7 separate regions of the Homo sapiens genome follow, and regions 1, 3, 4, 5, 6 and 7 are each linked to region 2. The links are contacts of gene promoters, found by promoter capture Hi-C in blood cells and fetal thymus (Javierre and others, 2016). All regions are on one chromosome and are shown on one strand. The core of a region is centred on a gene start or on the middle of the fragment in contact, and the rest is flanking DNA. Distances in the headings are between cores, read along the strand shown.

What was found. The method cuts DNA at HindIII sites, captures the fragments that hold promoters and counts their contacts. A CHiCAGO score of 5 or more calls a contact.
Region 1: a fragment that was not itself captured here is called in contact with the fragment with the promoter of NPY in region 2 in 7 of 17 cell types (M0 macrophages, M1 macrophages, M2 macrophages and 4 more); the score reaches 9.1 in M0 macrophages.
Region 3: a contact is called between a fragment that was not itself captured here and the fragment with the promoter of NPY in region 2, in 1 of 17 cell types (megakaryocytes). The highest score is 5.0, in megakaryocytes.
Region 4: a contact is called between a fragment that was not itself captured here and the fragment with the promoter of NPY in region 2, in 1 of 17 cell types (naive B cells). The highest score is 5.3, in naive B cells.
Region 5: a contact is called between a fragment that was not itself captured here and the fragment with the promoter of NPY in region 2, in 2 of 17 cell types (erythroblasts and naive CD4 T cells). The highest score is 5.8, in erythroblasts.
Region 6: a contact is called between a fragment that was not itself captured here and the fragment with the promoter of NPY in region 2, in 1 of 17 cell types (megakaryocytes). The highest score is 5.4, in megakaryocytes.
Region 7: a contact is called between a fragment that was not itself captured here and the fragment with the promoter of NPY in region 2, in 12 of 17 cell types (M0 macrophages, megakaryocytes, M2 macrophages and 9 more). The highest score is 12.6, in M0 macrophages.

What each region holds. Positions count from the first base shown.
Region 1 is chr7:24,652,351-24,655,156 of GRCh38, forward strand. The region is part of intron 5 of PALS2 (protein associated with LIN7 2, MAGUK p55 family member); the gene reads left to right. Among named protein-coding and RNA genes, the nearest start is that of PALS2, 80 kb to the left of the region's middle. The HindIII fragment of the contact is 458 bases long and covers 1,092-1,549 here.
Region 2 is chr7:24,282,866-24,285,790 of GRCh38, forward strand. NPY (neuropeptide Y) reads left to right here and starts at 1,325. Exons shown (of 4, transcript NM_000905.4): 1 at 1,325-1,410; 2 at 2,376-2,563. The coding sequence starts at 2,376. All of the region lies in intron 2 of LOC107986777 (a long non-coding RNA gene), which reads right to left. The HindIII fragment of the contact is 8,579 bases long and covers 1-2,925 here.
Region 3 is chr7:24,564,854-24,567,699 of GRCh38, forward strand. No RefSeq gene overlaps it. Among named protein-coding and RNA genes, the nearest start is that of PALS2, 7.2 kb to the right of the region's middle. The HindIII fragment of the contact is 4,178 bases long and covers 1-2,846 here.
Region 4 is chr7:24,688,696-24,691,508 of GRCh38, forward strand. PALS2 (protein associated with LIN7 2, MAGUK p55 family member) reads left to right here. Exons shown (of 12, transcript NM_001303037.2): 12 at 1-2,813. Among named protein-coding and RNA genes, the nearest start is that of GSDME, 67 kb to the right of the region's middle. The HindIII fragment of the contact is 6,755 bases long and covers 1-2,813 here.
Region 5 is chr7:24,602,965-24,605,717 of GRCh38, forward strand. All of the region lies in intron 1 of PALS2 (protein associated with LIN7 2, MAGUK p55 family member), which reads left to right. Among named protein-coding and RNA genes, the nearest start is that of PALS2, 31 kb to the left of the region's middle. The HindIII fragment of the contact is 1,179 bases long and covers 734-1,912 here.
Region 6 is chr7:24,707,438-24,710,343 of GRCh38, forward strand. It overlaps GSDME (gasdermin E), which reads right to left. Exons shown (of 10, transcript NM_001127453.2): 6 at 2,787-2,906; 7 at 690-817. Among named protein-coding and RNA genes, the nearest start is that of GSDME, 49 kb to the right of the region's middle. The HindIII fragment of the contact is 447 bases long and covers 1,056-1,502 here.
Region 7 is chr7:24,668,965-24,671,840 of GRCh38, forward strand. The region is part of intron 9 of PALS2 (protein associated with LIN7 2, MAGUK p55 family member); the gene reads left to right. Among named protein-coding and RNA genes, the nearest start is that of GSDME, 87 kb to the right of the region's middle. The HindIII fragment of the contact is 3,027 bases long and covers 62-2,876 here.

The DNA.
Region 1 (2,806 bases), core at 71-2,570, 370 kb after region 2:
CTGGTGAACTAACTGAATACCATGAAATGCAAGGACATTTAGCCTTGTTTAAACATAAGTTTTCCACATTCCATACCCTCTCAAACTCTGCTTTTCACTTAGCATTTAGAGCTGGGGAAATGAATTCAAGTAGGAGAGGAGGAGTCTTATAAGTCCGAGGTAGCCTGAGGCGTGTCCTCCCATAAAGAAGTAAAGAAACTATAACATGAAGGCTTCCAAAAGAACATCCAAATTGAGACTTTTTTTTTTTTAAATGAAAAGGGGAACATTACTCATATGCTGGAATAATAGGCATAAACCAGGGCATCTGCAAACCATGGGCATCCTACTGAGATGCTATAGGGAAGCAAGGGCATTTTGCGTCTTCAACTCTTTCACTAAAATCTCCACCATGTAGTGCTGTGGAGCTAGTCTCAGCTCTGGATTGCTGCAAGAGCAAATGAAAGCCAAGAACTCTTCCCTACCACGGTAATGTTTTTCAAAAGCATAGTCAGTAGATGATCTTTATCAGAATCGTTTCAGGTGCTTGGTAAAAGTCCAGAATCTGCTATGGGACATAAGTATCTATGTTTTAAATTTTGAGGGCCAGAGTGAGTTAGAAGTAGCCAATTCTGAAGTTCTTCAACTTTCTTATAGCTTAGATTTCCGGGGGCTATTCGTAATTCCATTTGTTTATTAAGGCCAACTGATAGGAATTCTCTCTTATTCTTTGGAACCAACATGACCTGGACAACTAGAAACAATATAAGAAAATATATTACAGGACTGTTTCATTCAAGGATATACATTAAAAATTCTCAACAAAATATTAGCAAATCAGATTTGATTGTGTATATAACAAAGATGATACAACATATCCAAGTTAGATTTATTATCCCAGGTATGCTAGGAGAGTTTCATATTAGAAAATCCATATGTATGTAACTAAGCACATTACCAGATGAAAAGAGAATAACCTCAATGGAGAATTTGATAAAATTCAATGATTTTTAAAAAATGATTAGTAAATTAGGAACAGAAGGGAAAAGCCTTAATTTTATTACAAAAAAAAAAAATAGAACAAACATTATTCTGAATTAACTAATGTTAGAAGCTTTCCCTTTAAAGTCAGAAACTGGCCTTGCAGCTGGTCTGCCTGAGACCTCTAGTGCCAACCCCAATACCCCACGAAGTTTAATTTCCACTCACGAAATTCCACTTTCGTTTTCATTATAAAATGAAAAAGCCCTCACAAACCATGAAAAACTTGCCAGATTTCAAGCACAATTGTGCACTGGTAAAAAGGAACTGCCCTCAGATGATACAGCAAACATTATCTGTTAAAACAGATGATAAAAAAAATCTTCAGTTTTCCTGAAAGAAAGTAGAAATAGGCAATATCTCTGATACTAAAGAGGTATGTCTGCAAACCAAGGAATGGTGATCTTCATTAACAATCCCAGTGTTCAGACATCTCTAGCAGCGAACACTTTGACCATTACCAGACATGCTGAGACAAAGCAGCTAACAGAAATGCCACCCAGTGTCTTAAACCAGCTTGGTGTCAACAAGCTTAAGGAAACTGGCAGAAGCTGGATGGAAAAGTACCACTTACTATTGGGGAAGTGGTGATCTTGTTCAGAATTTTGATGAAGCTTCCAACAGTGAGGCAAACTGAATTGATTCAGCTTCTAAAAAATAATACAATTTCAAGAATTTTAACTGCTTTTAAAATTTTTGTTTTATATATGATAAAATGTAAGTCTATAAATTCCAAGACCCTTGGACACTGCTTTTTAATTATTGATTATATACAGTTATTTATTGGCAATTAATTAGCCAGAAAATAGTTTAAAACAAAGATAAAGCCTTTGCCTAGTTAAAAAAAAAAAAAGAAACTAGAGAAGGATGCTCACTAGCACCACTTATATTTAATATTTTCTTGAAGGATCCATAAGTACAGTATGACAAAAATAAATTATACAAGCAAAATGTTTGGAAAGGAGGCAATAAAACTTATTTACAAATATGATCATGTTTTTGCATAGAAACCCCTCAAAACTACAACTTATTAGAAATAATAGAGTTTACCAAGGTACCTGAAAATAAGATGAAGACACAAAACTCAATTGCATTTCTGTATGTCATCAGCAAACGTCTAGAAATGTAACTATGACATCATTTATAGTAGAGTCAGAGAATGTCACATTTATGTCTAGGAATAAATTAACCAAAAAAATTCAAGACCTCTACACAAAGGAATTATGAAGAGGATCTAAATAAGCAGGTATATCATGTCATGGACAGGAAGACAATATTGTGAAGATGTTGATTTTTCACTCATTAACTTGTAGATTTAATGGAATTCCAGTCAAAACAGGGTTTTCCATGGAATTTGATAAGATGAATAGCCAAGACACTTTTGAATCAGAAAAGCAGGAATGGGGTCTGATTATTAATATGTAGGAATTAAGATATTGTGATGTTGGCATAGGAAGAGACAGCATGATCAATGGACTTTTAGAGAGCTCAGAAAGAGACCTACACATACATATTACTTTGATATGTGACAGAGATAATGTTTTTCAATGTGGAAAGGAGATGATGCAATGAATGGGGGGAACCTGGTTATTCTAGGGATACTGTTTGAAATTGTGTTTCACTCTACACAGAAAAATCAAGTAAAAGGGGACATGTGTTCAGTAAACATATAAAGATATATTGAAAATCATAATGTGATATACCATTAAGTTGGTAAAAATTATAGCTGTGAATCAACAGCATCTTTTCTACATTGCTGGTGGCAGTGTGTATTGGTATAAACACA
Region 2 (2,925 bases), core at 75-2,574:
CATGCAAAGGATTGTTTGCTTCACGGTTTTTGATATTTAATTCAATGCTGTTGGAACAGCACAAAAACTAAGTGTCAGTTTAACAGAATCACTTGTCCTTTTAGCATTAAAATAACATGGAACTTAATGCTTTAATTTCCCAACATGCCTTTTTATTTAGAAAGATTCAGACTTATATTTCATTTAGAAATAAAATGCCATTTTATTTAGAAAGATACAGGAGCATTCATTCACGGAACTTTCAGATCTCAGTCCACTGCATAAAATCTTGATCCTGTAATAATAGTTTCTGTATCTTGCATATTCATTCAACAGGTTTAACGCGATGAGCAAATTAATGTTCATCGTTTTTAACATGTTTCATCTTAATCAGAACCCACATTCTCAACGTTAATTGAACGTACATAGGACTATACAAGGGTTAGTAAATAAGACAGAAACTGTTGTTCATTTAACCACCGTCACTTTGGACCAAAAAAGAAAAAATATATATTTTTAAAATTGAGCTTAAAAGAGTCTCTAGAAGCTGGAAGCGTGGCTCTTTTTCAGCAAACTGGGGGAATAGGTTTACCGTGTTCCCCCTCTGGGGAATTTTGAGTCGCCACACTCATGTCTCGACCGAGCCTGGCTCGCTGCGTCTGAGCGAGTACTTGAGGAAGGCTGATCTAGAAAAACCAGCTGAGAGAAGGGGCAGAAGCCCCTGAAACCACGGGCGGGGGTGGGGTGGGGAGCGCAGCTTTGGGACCCTCTAGCCGGAGACTTCCGGCAGCTGCCTCCGACTTGTTCTAAGTACAGGAAAAATCTGTGCGCCCAGTTGCCTCACTCCAACAGCGCGCAGTTGTGCCCGGCGAGGATGCCGCGCTAGTCGTGGAGATGCCCCACCACAAAGAGGATTCAGGTGCTTCCTACTCCGGCACCCAGTGGGTTGGTAGTCCTGTTGGCAGGAGACAAGAATCGTCTGGGCTGCTCCTATCTCTGGCAGGACTAGACGGGGCGTGAAGGAAAGAAGGAAAGAAGGAAAGCAGGGATCGGGCACTGCCCGAGGGCAGATACTTGGGCTTTGGTGTTGTCCAGCGCGCTCGGAGTGCGCTGCCTCGCTCACGCGGTCCCAGGCCCCGCTTCTTCAGGCAGTGCCTGGGGCGGGAGGGTTGGGGTGTGGGTGGCTCCCTAAGTCGACACTCGTGCGGCTGCGGTTCCAGCCCCCTCCCCCCGCCACTCAGGGGCGGGAAGTGGCGGGTGGGAGTCACCCAAGCGTGACTGCCCGAGGCCCCTCCTGCCGCGGCGAGGAAGCTCCATAAAAGCCCTGTCGCGACCCGCTCTCTGCACCCCATCCGCTGGCTCTCACCCCTCGGAGACGCTCGCCCGACAGCATAGTACTTGCCGCCCAGCCACGCCCGCGCGCCAGCCACCGTGAGTGCTACGACCCGTCTGTCTAGGGGTGGGAGCGAACGGGGCGCCCGCGAACTTGCTAGAGACGCAGCCTCCCGCTCTGTGGAGCCCTGGGGCCCTGGGATGATCGCGCTCCACTCCCCAGCGGACTATGCCGGCTCCGCGCCCCGACGCGGACCAGCCCTCTTGGCGGCTAAATTCCACTTGTTCCTCTGCTCCCCTCTGATTGTCCACGGCCCTTCTCCCGGGCCCTTCCCGCTGGGCGGTTCTTCTGAGTTACCTTTTAGCAGATATGGAGGGAGAACCCGGGACCGCTATCCCAAGGCAGCTGGCGGTCTCCCTGCGGGTCGCCGCCTTGAGGCCCAGGAAGCGGTGCGCGGTAGGAAGGTTTCCCCGGCAGCGCCATCGAGTGAGGAATCCCTGGAGCTCTAGAGCCCCGCGCCCTGCCACCTCCCTGGATTCTTGGGCTCCAAATCTCTTTGGAGCAATTCTGGCCCAGGGAGCAATTCTCTTTCCCCTTCCCCACCGCAGTCGTCACCCCGAGGTGATCTCTGCTGTCAGCGTTGATCCCCTGAAGCTAGGCAGACCAGAAGTAACAGAGAAGAAACTTTTCTTCCCAGACAAGAGTTTGGGCAAGAAGGGAGAAAAGTGACCCAGCAGGAAGAACTTCCAATTCGGTTTTGAATGCTAAACTGGCGGGGCCCCCACCTTGCACTCTCGCCGCGCGCTTCTTGGTCCCTGAGACTTCGAACGAAGTTGCGCGAAGTTTTCAGGTGGAGCAGAGGGGCAGGTCCCGACCGGACGGCGCCCGGAGCCCGCAAGGTGGTGCTAGCCACTCCTGGGTTCTCTCTGCGGGACTGGGACGAGAGCGGATTGGGGGTCGCGTGTGGTAGCAGGAGGAGGAGCGCGGGGGGCAGAGGAGGGAGGTGCTGCGCGTGGGTGCTCTGAATCCCCAAGCCCGTCCGTTGAGCCTTCTGTGCCTGCAGATGCTAGGTAACAAGCGACTGGGGCTGTCCGGACTGACCCTCGCCCTGTCCCTGCTCGTGTGCCTGGGTGCGCTGGCCGAGGCGTACCCCTCCAAGCCGGACAACCCGGGCGAGGACGCACCAGCGGAGGACATGGCCAGATACTACTCGGCGCTGCGACACTACATCAACCTCATCACCAGGCAGAGGTGGGTGGGACCGCGGGACCGATTCCGGGAGCGCCAGTGCCTGCACACCAGGAGATCCTGGGGATGTTAGGGAAAGGGATTGTTTCTTTTCCTTCGCTCTATCCCAGGGCAGGACAGTATCAGGCACTTAGTCAGCTCTAGGTAAATGTTTGTACAGGGCACACTCTACACAAAATGGGTACCTTCCATTTTGTGCAACTACAGTCACAGAGTCGTGATCCCCAGATTCAGGTTCCCCAGGCTGGTAGGCTGGCAATCTCCTCTCACTCACCTCTTATGGTTTGTTGTGGTTCTTACGGCAGTGGGGCCCGGTCCAGAAATCTCGAAAGTACCCAGTGAAAGGGGCAAGAATGCGCCAGAGA
Region 3 (2,846 bases), core at 332-2,831, 280 kb after region 2:
AATTGTGAATGTGATATTTTCTTTTTCAGTCTAGTTTTCTATCTAGCTATCATATATACAAAAAAACCAACTGCATTTTATAAATTTTGATTAGATCTACCAAATCTTTCTTTTTATTATTTATTATTTATTTTAGTTGATTATCTTGGGTCTTCTAGAGAGACAATTTCATCATCAGTAAATAATGATAACTTTATCTCTCCCTTCCAATATTAATACCATATCTCTTACTTATCTCTTTTCTTTCTTATCTTATTGTACTGGCTAGACCTTCCAGATCAAGGCTTAGCAATAGTAGATAAAATGGAAACTTTGTCCTTTTTGGGAGGAAAGATAATTTAATTAAGAGCATTCTTAGCTTATAATTATGCACCAAAGTAAATTAGCAAATGACTATTTGCTGTCCTACAACTACACTTTTGTGAAAATAATAATAGTAATTACACTCTTCTCTGAAAAAGCAACTATATCAGGCATTTGATAGGTTTAATTAATAATTCTTAAAACACCCTGCAAGGTAGGCCTATTATACTCATTTTGCATTTGAGAAAAGAAAGATTCTTATATACTGAAAAACATTCCTAAGGTTACTCAGCTCATACGTGGTAAATCTAGTAGAACTTAGAGTTATCTGATTCTAAACTCTTCTTTTGTACCGTATTACTTGCACTATATAAATACTATTATGATTTAATTCTGATACATACAAATGGATCTGTCTCATTGGTCAATTGGTATAGGGTTGCAATGATATACTTAATATATCTTAGGTATTCAACTTGTGAGAATTATAATACTGACTTTGAATGACAGAAATTATAATTATTACTCTTAATTTAAAAATAGAATTAATCAAATAAATATTAAGTACCTACAATATGTCAGTGTCTTCATAATTATTTACCTAACTATATCATTTAATAATATACAGGTTGAGCATCCCTAATCTGAAAATCTGAAACTTCCTCAATGCCAACATGATGCTACAAGTGAAAAATTCCACATATAAGTACTTAACACAAATGTTATTTTATGCATAAAATTATTTTAAATATCATATAAAATTACCTCAGACTATGTGTATAAGGTGTATGTGAAACATAAATAAATTTCATGTTCAGACTTGGGTCCCATCCCCAAGATATCTCATTACGTATTTGCAAATATTCCCAAATCCCAAAAAATCTGAAATCTGAAACACTTTTGGTCCCAAGCATTTCAGATAATGGATCGTCAACTTGTATTGATTAGACTGTGACTTAGCATTTCATAAAGGTATAGCTTCTGCCCCAAATAAATCATCTATAAGTCAGAACTCTATTGGTGACAAGTGATGGAAACTCAACTCAAATTATCTTAAATTTAAAAAGGTCTCATGAATTTATGTAACCAGAAAAGTCTAGAATTAAGGCTGGCCTCAGGCATGACTAAATCTTCCCTTTTTTGAGATTCTCAAAGTGTTGATTTGAAAAGAGAAAAAAAAAACAAATTATCTTTCTTCCTACTGCAGTACAGAAAAATCCAAAATTTTCTTTATTTAGGTAACATGTCTACTTCTTGCACTAATCCCTATGGCTGAAGGGATGGGGCACTCTTATTGGCCAGGCCTGGGTCACATGGCCACTCTTGTAATTTAAGAATATGGGGAGGATATGGTGATTAGTAGTCCCACCAGAATCTAATGCAAAATAGATAGCCTTTCCACAAATGCTACATTGTTAAAATACACACATACAGTAAGTCTGTAGATCGTGGTGGTGAATCTGAGTTAAATAACATGCTACAGAGAACCTCTAATTGTAGTAACTCGTACTATAATTCATTCCAGTTGAATTGACCTGAAAGTTACAAAGCACTCTGTGTATGAAGTGTGGGAATGAGCAGGAGTTTTGCAGCAGAGCTTCTTTAAACACTTCCTGGTTCTGAAGCCTGAGCCATTAACTCCTCTTCACTTGTTTTCTCATCTGAAAAATGGGAGTAATAGTAATGATCCCCATGGGATGCTCCATATGAAGGTTATACACCAGTGTCTGCCACACAGGCATGAGCTCAATAGATAGTTGTCATTCGCTATTATTACCAAAGCAGGATTTTTTAAAAAGACTTGGTCTTTCATATTTATAAACAGCTGATATTTTAAGGAAAAACTAAATGCCCTGTACTTCCTAGCATGAAGATGGCATTGCTTTAAAATGGGCCATTAACTTCCCAGATTGTTAACAGCCAAAACAGCTTGCCATGGCTGCCCCGACTCATACACATACACCCCGACTTCCATCATTGCTTCCACGTCCCTTATCCTATCCATCTTTCATTCATTTATTTACCAAAAATGTCTTAAGAGCCTACTATGCATCTTAATGACTTGCTCTTACCCTCACGACTTCTCCTCAGTCCTTTGGAGGAGCATCGGCCTCACAGTTTGACCCTTTGTTTTTATGTTTAATCACCATTGACACCCTTTTTGCCTGTCATGCCAGAAGATTCTTCCAGAAGACCTCCACTGCCCTCCAGGACTTCGTGCCTGTCTGTGTTTTCAATGGGGAAAGGTACACACTATACTGACACTATATATTTTTACAAATTTTTAAGAAAGGTTTTTCCTGTTTTCCTATGTCTTTTTAATCTTCTTTTTGATACTTGAGTAGAAGGATTTTTTTTTCAGTTCATATATATAATGGGAGAGGTAGAATTTAGAGGCCGATTTTAAATGAGTATCTAAAAGGGTTAATTACATATAGATGCTGGCTCCTGGTGAGATAAAGTCAAGCTCAATTAAGGTCACTGCTTGAAATCTGATTGTCTTTCTAAGAGCTTTTCATCTGTAACTTGCATATTCTGGAACA
Region 4 (2,813 bases), core at 237-2,736, 410 kb after region 2:
ATTTTGTATACATACACACAAAATATATACATTATATAATATGTATATTATGTATTATATAATATATATAAAATGTTTTGTATATTTTTTACATATCTGTTAAAAAATGTACTTTGTTTTTTTGTTTGTTTGTTTTGAGATGGAGTCTCTCTCTGTCACCCATGCTGGAGTACAGTGGCGCGATCTCAGCCCGCTGCAACCTCTGCCTCCTGGGTTCATGCGACTCTCGTGCCTCAGCCTCCCAAGTAATTGAGATTACAGTTGGGTGCCACCATGTCCGGCTAATTTTTGTATTTTTAGTACAGATGGGGTTTCACCATGTTGGCCAGGGTGGTCTCGAGCTCCTGACCTCAAGTGATCCACCCACCTTGGCCTCCCAAAGTGCTGAGATTACAAGCATGAGCCACTGCACCTAGCCAAGAAGTGTACTTTTTGTTTAATGATTACCGAAAGAAGTTCTCCTTTAGAAGCATTGACTTATACAAATTCCCACATTCACCTCAGTTAATATCTTCCTTTAGGATTCTTGGATAATAGAAATTCTTCCTAAAACATACTCAGAGATGCAGCTCATTATTAAATTAAGGTAACCACATTCTGTATTGTTGCTAGCTTTTCATGTAAACATTATTCACACTTTAAAGGATTAGGTGTTTAAATATTGATGGTCATCTTTGTCTGGTGTTAGGTGCCAGACACCTGGCTGCTGAATTTGTTTTTTCCCTCACCAAAGTTGTCATTTGGAACGCCAGCTGGGAGGACTTTGAAGGAAAAGAAAATATATGACAATAGGCAGTATTGACACATTGTTTAAAATCTTTTTCACAATAAAACAAAACACCCAAGTTGTCATATTGTTAAAGTTGGAAATCTATAGGTTTTTCTTTTTTTTTTTTTTTTTCTTTTTTTGATTCTAGATTTCATGGCCAGAACACAAATTCACGTTTCTTGTCCTAGGACAGGGAATTGGTGACAAAATGGATTATACTATTTTAATAACAGTGGAAACTTTCAAACTACATGTGTTTACACCAAATTCTTGGCTTCTCAAAGCAACATGAATTAAAGCACAGTATCAAGGTGATGCCCTATGACAATGTTTCAACACACACTTGAAATTTTAAGAGAAATTTCAGTTCTTCACTCAGGAAATGTGCTGTATTCTCTAATGTACTTTCATGCTGCAGCATGGAGCCTCTTTAAACAGCTTTGGGATAATTATAGCAGCACAAGAAGTTTATCTGCAAAATATTTCAATCATCTTGGTACAATAGATGACTTTTACATCATGTATATTAGCCTTATGTGATATAAAATGTATTACTTAGAAAATATACTTAAAGGAATTATTTCTATTATAAATGGTATTCATGATTGACTACTTAATTAATGCACATTAGATTTCTCCTAATATAAAATGAAATGATGCAGTTTAGTTCATTTCAGTCTAGATGCCCGTACTAACAAGAATACAGTTAGATAAGTTCATTGTATCTCAATGAAGAATCATTGAACTTGAAACCCAAGTCCCAAATGAATCTGCAGGAATGAGCAGTGCTCTGCGGGGGCAAACAGCCCCAGAGGTCCCAGGGTTCTTCCTAGGTAATGAGAGTATAGCTGTGATCAAGGAAATGTGAACTTCTCTTTTGGGAAGATCTGCGATAATTAGCTTTATGGAAGCGAAAATGGTTTAGAGTGGTGTTGAGCAATTGTTAAGAGTTGAAATAGACACACACATGCATGTGCTTTTGGGAAACATGATGTGCCAACGTATTAATGTGCCTGAGGGCTCCTTGTGGATAGGTCAGTGTCCACATTTCAGCACTCAGGGCATGACTGTACACAACCTAAGACTATATATATATTTTTTCATTTTCAAATGTACAAATACCCATAGAGGTGATGTGCCTGGATAAGTCATTTAACCATAGCTTAGTGAAATAAATGTGATGGCCCTAAAAAGTAGAATTTTCACTTTCATTACAGCCATGCCTTTATTATGCAGTCTCCATTTCTGTGTGATATTTGGTAATATCACATGTCAAATACATCAGGACTTTGTTTATTTTGGCTAACTCTAACTATACAATTGCTGAACATAGCTTTCTGAAATAGAAATTATAAGAGAAACCCAGTATGCCTACAGCATTAGTAGCCTAAATCCTAGATTCTAGAATCCAATAAATTTATAGTAGTTCTTAAGAAGTTTCCTTTAAAGCAACAAATAGATTATTAAGGCAAATTTAGATAATAACCCAAGTTAGCAATAAAACCATGTGACATTATAGATTATGTCCAGATACTAACTGCTTTGACCATAATATCCCAATGACAATAAAAAATGATCCTTGGTTTAAAAATTATTAAATGGTACTTATTTTTATGTATAACAAGTGTCATGATCCCAGTGACTGGAGTTGATTTTCAAGGTGGATAGCCATAGAGTTAGGTAAAATTATTTTGAATTGGCAAACTAAAGATAACAATTTTGAAAATTGCTCAAAATAATAATCTACTTAAATTTTACTTTTGTAACTTCTGAAACAGTACTCCATTATCCAGAAATCACAGGCTAGAGAGCCAATAATTTTGTAGTAATGAACCTTAACTAAACATGAAAAAGGCAATCCTGAAGTTTTATGTACATAGATAGCAGTTCATTTTTTAAATGTTCGAGTTGCCATATATTATGTATGTGTGTGTGTGTGTGTATATATATATATATATATATATATATATATATATATATACAGCTATGTGTATAATATGTAAAATTCTCCCAAAATGTATGAATATAAAACTGAATGTATTCA
Region 5 (2,753 bases), core at 73-2,572, 320 kb after region 2:
TCCACCATGATTGTAAGTTTCCTGAGGCTGGGGAGCCATGTGGAACTGTGAGTCAATTAAACCTCTTTTCTTCATAAATTACCCAGTCTTGGGTCATACCAGCATGGGAACAGACTAATACAGTAAGAAGGCATCCCTCTGTAAACCAGGAAGTGAGCCAGCACCTTGATCTTGGACTTCCCAGCCTTCAGACCTGTGAGAAATAAATTTCTGTCATTTAAGCTACCCAGGCTATATTTTTGTCATAGCAGCCTGAATTAACTGAGACAGTGAGCTTAGGACTAGCTGAGAAAACCAGCAGCTTTGCTGCCCAAAAGTTGTGGAGTGACTTGATTCAGGCTAGGGAAGAAAGAGAAGACACACAAACTAAACCTGTGACTTTGCTGGTGAAAAGTGGTGGATTTGGTTGGAAACAAATAGAGAAAACCTGCTGCTGTGCTAATTTGACATTGTGGACCAGCAGAAATTTAATAGGGAAATCCTAGAAATGAGAGAGCCATGGAAGGGTTAAGATGAGCTCTCCACATAGAGACCCAGGAGAGCCTGGAAAAAAGTGAAAGCTGATGGGGACTTGACAACTGGCTGCAACTTTGAATGCATTTCCCAGTCCATCACAGCTCAACTCACTGAGAGTGAAGTCTTAAAAGCTTGAGGTTTTTGAACACAGCCGTTGCTGATTTGTCCACAACATTGGCTCAAATGGCTGTTGGAGCACAATATTGGTCCATCATTAAGCTTTACAGACATAGGTACAACCCCAAGAGAGTCAGACTAAAATGTAAAAATAAGAATTAAAATATTAAACGGATGTCCTGACAGCATACCTTGGAGGGAAACAGATTCTGCAGTTTAAGTCTAGACCAATTATTTAAAAACTCAAACTCTGAAAAAAAAATAATAAATCTAGAGTTACTGTTAAGGGTTCCATATTCAACCCCAAACTGCTAGACATGGCAAAGAAAAGAAATACCAGGAAAATGTGAGTCATCATCGGGAAAAATAGTCAATAAAACGGACTCTGACTGGGCTCAGTGTTGGATTTAATGAAGACTTCAAATTGGCTATTTAGAATATATTGAAAGAATTAAAGGAAAATACAGTCTGGGCATTGTGACATGTGCCTGTAGTCCCAGCTACACAGGAGGCTGAGGTGGGAGGATTACTTGAGCCCGGTAGTTCAAGACTATGATCACACCTGTGAATACCCACATCAGTCTAGCCTGGGCAGTAAAGACCCTGTTTCTTTCAAGAAAAGAAAAAAAAAAAAAAAAAAGGAAAAAAGAAAAATATGTGAACAAGATGCTAACAGGACACAATAAATAGAGAACCTCAGTAAAGAAGCAAACTCAAAAAGAACCAAGTAGAGATTTTAGATTTGAAAAGCACAGTATTTGAAATGAAAATTTCATTGGATAGGCTCAACAGATTTAAGATGGCAGAGAAAATGTGAAGATCAATAAAAAGTATTCCAACAAGAGAAAGAAAAGAGATTTGTAAGAATAGGGAACAAAGCCTTGGAGACATGTGGGACAATGTCAAACATTCCAACACACATGTAATGGGAGTTTCAGACAGAAAGGAAAGAGAGAGACAGAAAAAAATATTTGAAGTAATAGTGGCCCCAAACCATCTCAAAGTTTTACTAAATTCTGGTAGAAAATAAAACTTAAAAAGAATTTCAGTAAGATGAAATAAGCACACTATACCCTAACTTGGCAGAGACAGTGAGCTCTGGTCCTTTCAGCTTCTGATAAGGGCATTCCTGCCAAGATGGGGGCTCCACCCTCATGACCTAGTCTAACCCTAATCACCTCCCCAAAGACTCCACCTCCAAATACCATCCCACTGGGAATTAGGGTTTTAGCATATGAATCTGGGAGGGACACAAACGCCTAGGCCATAGCACTGATCAAGCTTCGGTTATCACCAACTGAGCTGGGGCCCTGGGGAGGTACATGGGGACAGCCCCAGGCAAGAAGGCCACAGAGTCACACTGTTCTTACCTCAAGCTCTAGCAGTTTTGCCAGAATAAATGTGCCTCATTTTTATAACGGCCTTTGGGCAATTTTCAGCACCCTTAAAAGACTGCCTTTGATGATGCTGTCCAGTTTTATATTTGCTTTTTTGCAGAGGGGAACTGCCAATCTCTTCATGCCAATATTATCAGAAATTGAGTAATGTTTGTAATAAAAGATTTTCAACATTTTACTATTACTAAACTTTCATAGTCACAACTTTGTTATCAAGTGAAAGAAATCATTGTGATATGGGCAATATTGTTTCTAATGATGAAATTCATTAGGATGTTCACTGCAGCATTTCTTGAAGACATGGGAAAAATAGAAACAACTGCCATGTTCCTCAGACGCTAAATAAACTACACTCATCCTATGAATCTGCAACAACTAAAAGAATAACATGGTTTCATATGTACTAATGTGAAATGTTCTCCAAAATACATTTTTCTGTGGGAAAATAAGTTTCATATATCACTGATATAGTAAGATATTACTTATATAAATACAGTAACACATTATGTTTTAGATATTTATATAAGTATAGAAATGAAGCATATATCTTCATATTTTCTACAGATACAAATATGTAAATATGTAAGAATAGGTCTATAAAGACATAAAGAATAGGTCTATAAAGACATAAAGAATAGGTCTATAAACACATAAAAACAAAGTATAACATGCATTACCCCTAGGGAAAGAGCAGAGATGGAAAGCTGGCCAAGTTAAAAAGGC
Region 6 (2,906 bases), core at 29-2,528, 420 kb after region 2:
ACAGTGCAAAAGCCTATTTATTTCTCTGTTCTAAATGGAACAGGCTGACTTTATAGATTCCACCACACGACCCCCTTGCAGTAGTCTGAGTAGTGGCCCACCAACATATGTTACCTGGAACCTAAGAACGTGACCTTAGTCTTTGCAGATGTAATTAAAGTAAGGAAATCAAAATGAGATCATCCTAGATTGGGGTGGGCCCTAAATCCAATGATGGTGTCTTTATAACAGACAGTAAAGGAGAAGACACACACACACACACAGAGGGGAAGCCCACATGGAGACAGAGCAGAGGCTGGAGTGCTGCTGCCATGAGCCAGGAACACTAGGAGCCATCCGCAGCTGGAAGGAGACAAGGCAGCAGAATTCTCTCCTAGATCCTCTGGGGGAAGTGTGGCCCTGCAGACACCTAGACTTTGGACTTTTGGGCTCCAAAACTATGAGAGAATAAATTCCTGGTTTTTTAAGCCCTCAGGTTTGTTGAGGCAGCCCTAGGAAATTAACACCTCCCTCCACCCGATGCCAGCTACCTGTCTGCACTTAGAAAACGCAGGACCCAAGAGTCAGAAAAGAGACAGCTGTAGGGAGAAAAGGAGGCGGGGGAACCTTTAACACAATTCCATCCTGCCTCCTCCCCTGTTCCAGAAAACCCCAGTGAAAACACTGCCTTGAGATGTCTCAGGGCTCACCACTGGTTCCAGGACCATGAGTAGTTCATCATCAAATAGGACCGCCTGGAAGATGTCACTCAAAGCTGTCTGTTGTGGCTCAGGCAGCTCCGCAAATGGATGGAAATTCCTCTCCAGGAGCAGGGTCGCTGTGAAAACAAAGCACACCCAAGTCTCATGACTGCGATGCACATCTCACGACGTCGGACAGCAACTCCTGCTTTTTATACCTAATCGTCATCAGTTCTTTCATGGATATTCCCAGCTGCATAGTCAGTCATGGAACTCAGAAATAAACATCAAGTTACAAGCCACCCTGCATATTTTTCAATAACCAAAGGGAGGGAGGAGAGAGAGAGAAAGAGGGAAGCCAAGTTTTGTATTTCAAGCTTCACTCTTCTCTGATGACTCACTAAACATTAAGTCTAATCAATTATTTTCTGGAAAAGTTATTTAAATTCTTCTTTAGCATGACTTCTCTAGAAGTAAATTATCAAAGCTGAATTACTAAACAAGTCAGTGCTTTTACAATGCTTTAGAGCCATACAAATTCCAAAATACATTATTTTTCACGTCCTTTCTTGTAGTACATTGCAGATTTTCTATCCTTTAATATTTAATGCCCATTTTTAAAGGGGCTGGCACCCTATTTTCATGGCAAGCACAGCTATTCTTTCTCTATCCTTTGCTTCTTCATGAGTCCTCAAGCTGAGCACTGAGTCCCCGAAGCTATTGCCTCTGCAGGATGCTTAGGGGCCTCTCCCCTTAGAATCTCTTTTCCTTTCTTTGTTTTTTGGTTTTTTTGTTTGTTTGTTTGTTTTTAAGATACTCAGAAGCTTCTTGTAAATTAAGTCTAGTGGAGATTTTATTTTTAAAGATTTGATAAAGGTTTCGTATGCAGGGATGCACACTAATACATCAATGTACCACCCATGAGGATGGACGATTCCAACTAGCAGTTGTATAAAGCCCCACGCAGAGGAACACAGAACATCAGTAACCAACATATTTCAAAACTCTGCTATACACACAACTGTCTTTACCAGTCCCAGCCTGAAGAGAGAAGCTGTCCTGGTCGGTCCAGTCGCACACCCAGCTCCCACTGCACCCCTGCTGACCAGAATGGCCAACTCGAAGGGTGGGCCTGTGGGCAGGACAGAAGGAAGCTGCAGCACGGGACTGCCTTCTGCTACCCAGTGGCTGCAGGGCCATTTTGCTGTGGTTCTAACCCACAATGACAAAATCCTTCAAGTGGCAGCTGAAAATTGCACCCACTTATCCATCTCAAGGAAGCCAAGATAGGAAAGCCTTATATTAAAATTGGGCCTTTGTTGTCATTTCTTCAAATACGGACATTTTTGCTACAAAAGCATCCTGGTTTGGGACTCATCGAAGCTCCACAGATGTAGTCACCAGGGCTTCTGTGCTTACCCTCCAAGCCAGCGCGCACACGGAGCGGTTCCTAGCTCTTTGTGCTAAGCTCTCACCTATTTGTTTCTCCTTTTCCTTGCCCATCTCCTCCTATATGCTGCGCCCCCACATCCCCGACAAAAGAAACCAGCTTTCTAAAGCACAATACGCTGTGAGGAGCAAAAGGAATTGCTGCAGGCACATCCTGGGCATGGCCCCTCTTCCTCTTTGGCACCATGCAGTCCATGCCATGTGGATAAAGAGCCTCCAAGAGAGCATTTTGCAAGGCTGACAAAGCATTGCTTGTCTTGACAATGAAGCCCAGAATATAACAAAACAGATGCAGAACGGGTTCTCCATCCTCGCGGCTGATGAGCCATTCTTAGTAGTCAACAGGGCTTCTGTGCTTACAATGAAAGAAAAATGCCAAGCCCCTGACTGCCTCACTCTTCAGTCTCCGACCCCTACCCCATGGAGCGTCATTCTCCCCACCCTTCCTAAAATACAGCACCCACAACCTGGGGCTCCCTAAGATCCAACCGAGGTGAGTCCTGCCGAGTGGACTGGGCCTCGGCGGCATCACCTCTCTTCTCATATGTTTTCTGTGAGTCACTGAGGGGTCACTGATGCTGAAGGCCACACCACCTCTTGGGATACAGGGCTCAGTTGGCCCTCAACTGCCCACTACTCCTGCCCTGCTGGCAATACCTTGCTTTAAAACACTTAATGGTCCATCCTGGGAAGATATCCCATGCGCAGCATCTGGCATGTCTATGAATGCAAACTCTCGAAAGACCAGGGGGTCCAGGTAGACAGAGTCAATTCTCT
Region 7 (2,876 bases), core at 325-2,824, 390 kb after region 2:
GTACTGATGTCTATCTAAAAAGTTGGATTTTTCAGCCATTTTAGTGTAAAGAAAAGGGGAAAGCTTCTGACCCTTGGACATACCCAGTGTGGCAACAGCTGTGTGAACTTACGTGGCCTGGCTTGTAGCTCTCAGTCATGCAAGGTCATAAACCTGATTTTTGATAGCACATAAGAGTGATTCATCTTTTACTGCAGGCAGCATTCATTAAGGTTACAGAGTCTGATGTATAGAATAAAATAGTACTGATGAGAAGTATAACCATTAAGTGAACCAAGCACTCATTTTATGGTCTTTGCATTCATTTCTCTATTTGCATATTTACATAGAAAGTTAAATAATCATGTCAGAAGTATGCTTGATGAGAATGGAATTAGATCAAGGAATTGGATGATGTTAGTGATTTACTGTAATGACTAATACACATTTGTCTCTGACTGTAGGGACTAATAAACATTTGTCTTTGTTTTTGAAATACGTGGATCTTTACTTGTGAACTTAGATGTTCTCTCCCTTGAAGAAAGCAGGAGATAAGCTAACATTGCTTTCATTCCCATTGCTGTGCTTCTATTTCTGACCAAGCCCCCTTTTAACATGGCATTCCTTTAGGTATATTAATGCCTTTAAGCTATTTTGAGTCAAATCCTAGGCTAACTTTAACCCTATCTCTTTTAATTGAATTTTAGAGTTTCCCTGGTTTTGTCCAGTATATTTTGGGTTTAATTCTCAGTGAGTACTCTTATTGCTAAAATTCTTAAAAGTTAGGGAAATAGCCTTGTCATTGCCCCCCTGTGCTACTTATAATCCCTTCAGTGTAAATCTTCTGATTCTACTGCAGGCATTGTAAATCACTAAATTTAGACAAATCCTACTAAAGTGGTTAACAGAACAAAAACTTCACTGTAATCAACGTATGTTAAAGCTGCACTTGTGAAGTAAAAAGTTTTTCGCTTTTATCAAATTCATATGTGCCCAATATTTTTAGCAAGTAGTTCTTAAAGACATATAATGGGGAAAAAAATAACCCCTTCTCTTCCCCTGCCTCACTTATGAAAAACAGTCACTTTTCATTGTTTTTGCTATTTCTTTTGGTTGTGTTCCATATTTCTTAATAATGTCTTTAGTCTGCTGTTTCCTGCTTTATGCAGTTTAGGCCTTATCTGTTGACTTCCTGACTGTCCTTCCAATATAAAGATAGCTGTATTTTCAGTTAGTTCAATTTCACTTTCTTGAACAGCCCTTTCCCCTTCTGTGACCCAGGAATCTCTGGAGTTCTGTTTTTCTTTATACTACCTGATTTTATATATATATGTGTATACAGTTTTTTGTTGTTTTTTAAACTAAAGACTTGTTTATCCAGTAAGTCAGGTTCTTTTTTTTTTTCCTGGAGACCTCTGTCTCAGAACCCTCTGTCTTTCTGCTTCAATGAGGACTACATGCTGTCTCTCTGGCTGCCCAGCTGTTAACACTGGAGTAGTTCCCTTTGTTGTTATCCTGGGTTGAAGCTGTTGTTCCTGGATCCCATTCTTTCTCTTTCTTGGTTTATCACCTTGTTTTGCTGGGGTACATCCTCTTGTATGTGGAATGTAATGTCTGCATCTTTGTGTTTTAAAATGTATATTTTCTGCCCTTTATTTGACTAATTAGCAGAGAATAGAATTCTGGATTGTAAAATTCAAAAGCTGTTACAACGTCTTCATCATCGCCAAAAGAATCTCTGTACCCATTTCCCACCAACTTCCTCACCCCCTGCTGCCAGGAGCAATCATGAATCTTTCTGTCAAAATAGATTTGCTTATTTTGGACATTTTATATACTGGAGTTATACAATATGTGGTGTTTTGTGACTGGCTTCTTAACATGTCAGATCTCATCTGCATTGTAGCATTTATCAGTACTTATTTTCTTTTCCTTGCTAAGTGATTATTATATGGCTATACCACATTTTATTTATATATTCATCAGTTGATGGACATTTGGACTGTTTTATTTTTAGCTATTGTGAATAATGCTACACTCAGCATTTGTATACAGGTATTTGTGTGGACATATGCCTGTTTCTCTTGGGTATATACCTTGGAATGGAATTTGTAGGTTATATGATGACTGTATGTTTAGCCTTTAGAAGAACTTCCACACTGTTTTCCACAGCAGCTGTGTATATACCCTTCACAATCCCAGCAGCATATGAAGTTTCCAGTTTCTCTACATCCTCACCAACATTTGTCATCTGGCTTTTTGATTGTAGTCATCCTAGTGGGTGTAAAGTTGTATCTCATTTTGGTTCTCATTTGCATTTCCCTAATGTCTGATCATGTCAAACAACTTTTCATGTACATATTTGCCATTTATATATTTTCTTTGGAGGAATGTCTGTTCAAACTGGTTGCCCATTTTTCAGTTAGGTTATTTGTCCTTTTCTTAAGCTGTAAGAGGAGGTCATATTATATTCTGGGTACAGGTTCCTTGTTAGATATGATTTGCACGTATTAATATTTTCTCTCATTCTTTGTTGACTTCTCGTGTTTTTGATGGTGTCCTTTGATATACAAAAGTTTTTCATTTTGATGAAGTCCAAATTTATATGTCTTTTGTTGCTCATGCTTTTCATATCGTATCAAGTATGGTACCATATCAAGGCTTTCCCTAACCCAAGGCCACAAAATTTTACTCCTGTATTTTATTTTAAGAGTTTATACTACTGACTCTTACATGCAGATTATATGATCAATTTTGTGTTCATTTTTGTGTCAAATGTGAGGAGGGGGTTCCAACTTTATTCTTTTGCTTGCACTTATCCAGTTGTCACAACACAATTTGTCAAAAAGAATAGTTCTTTCCTCCAGTGGATTGTCTTGCCACCCTTTTTGAAAATC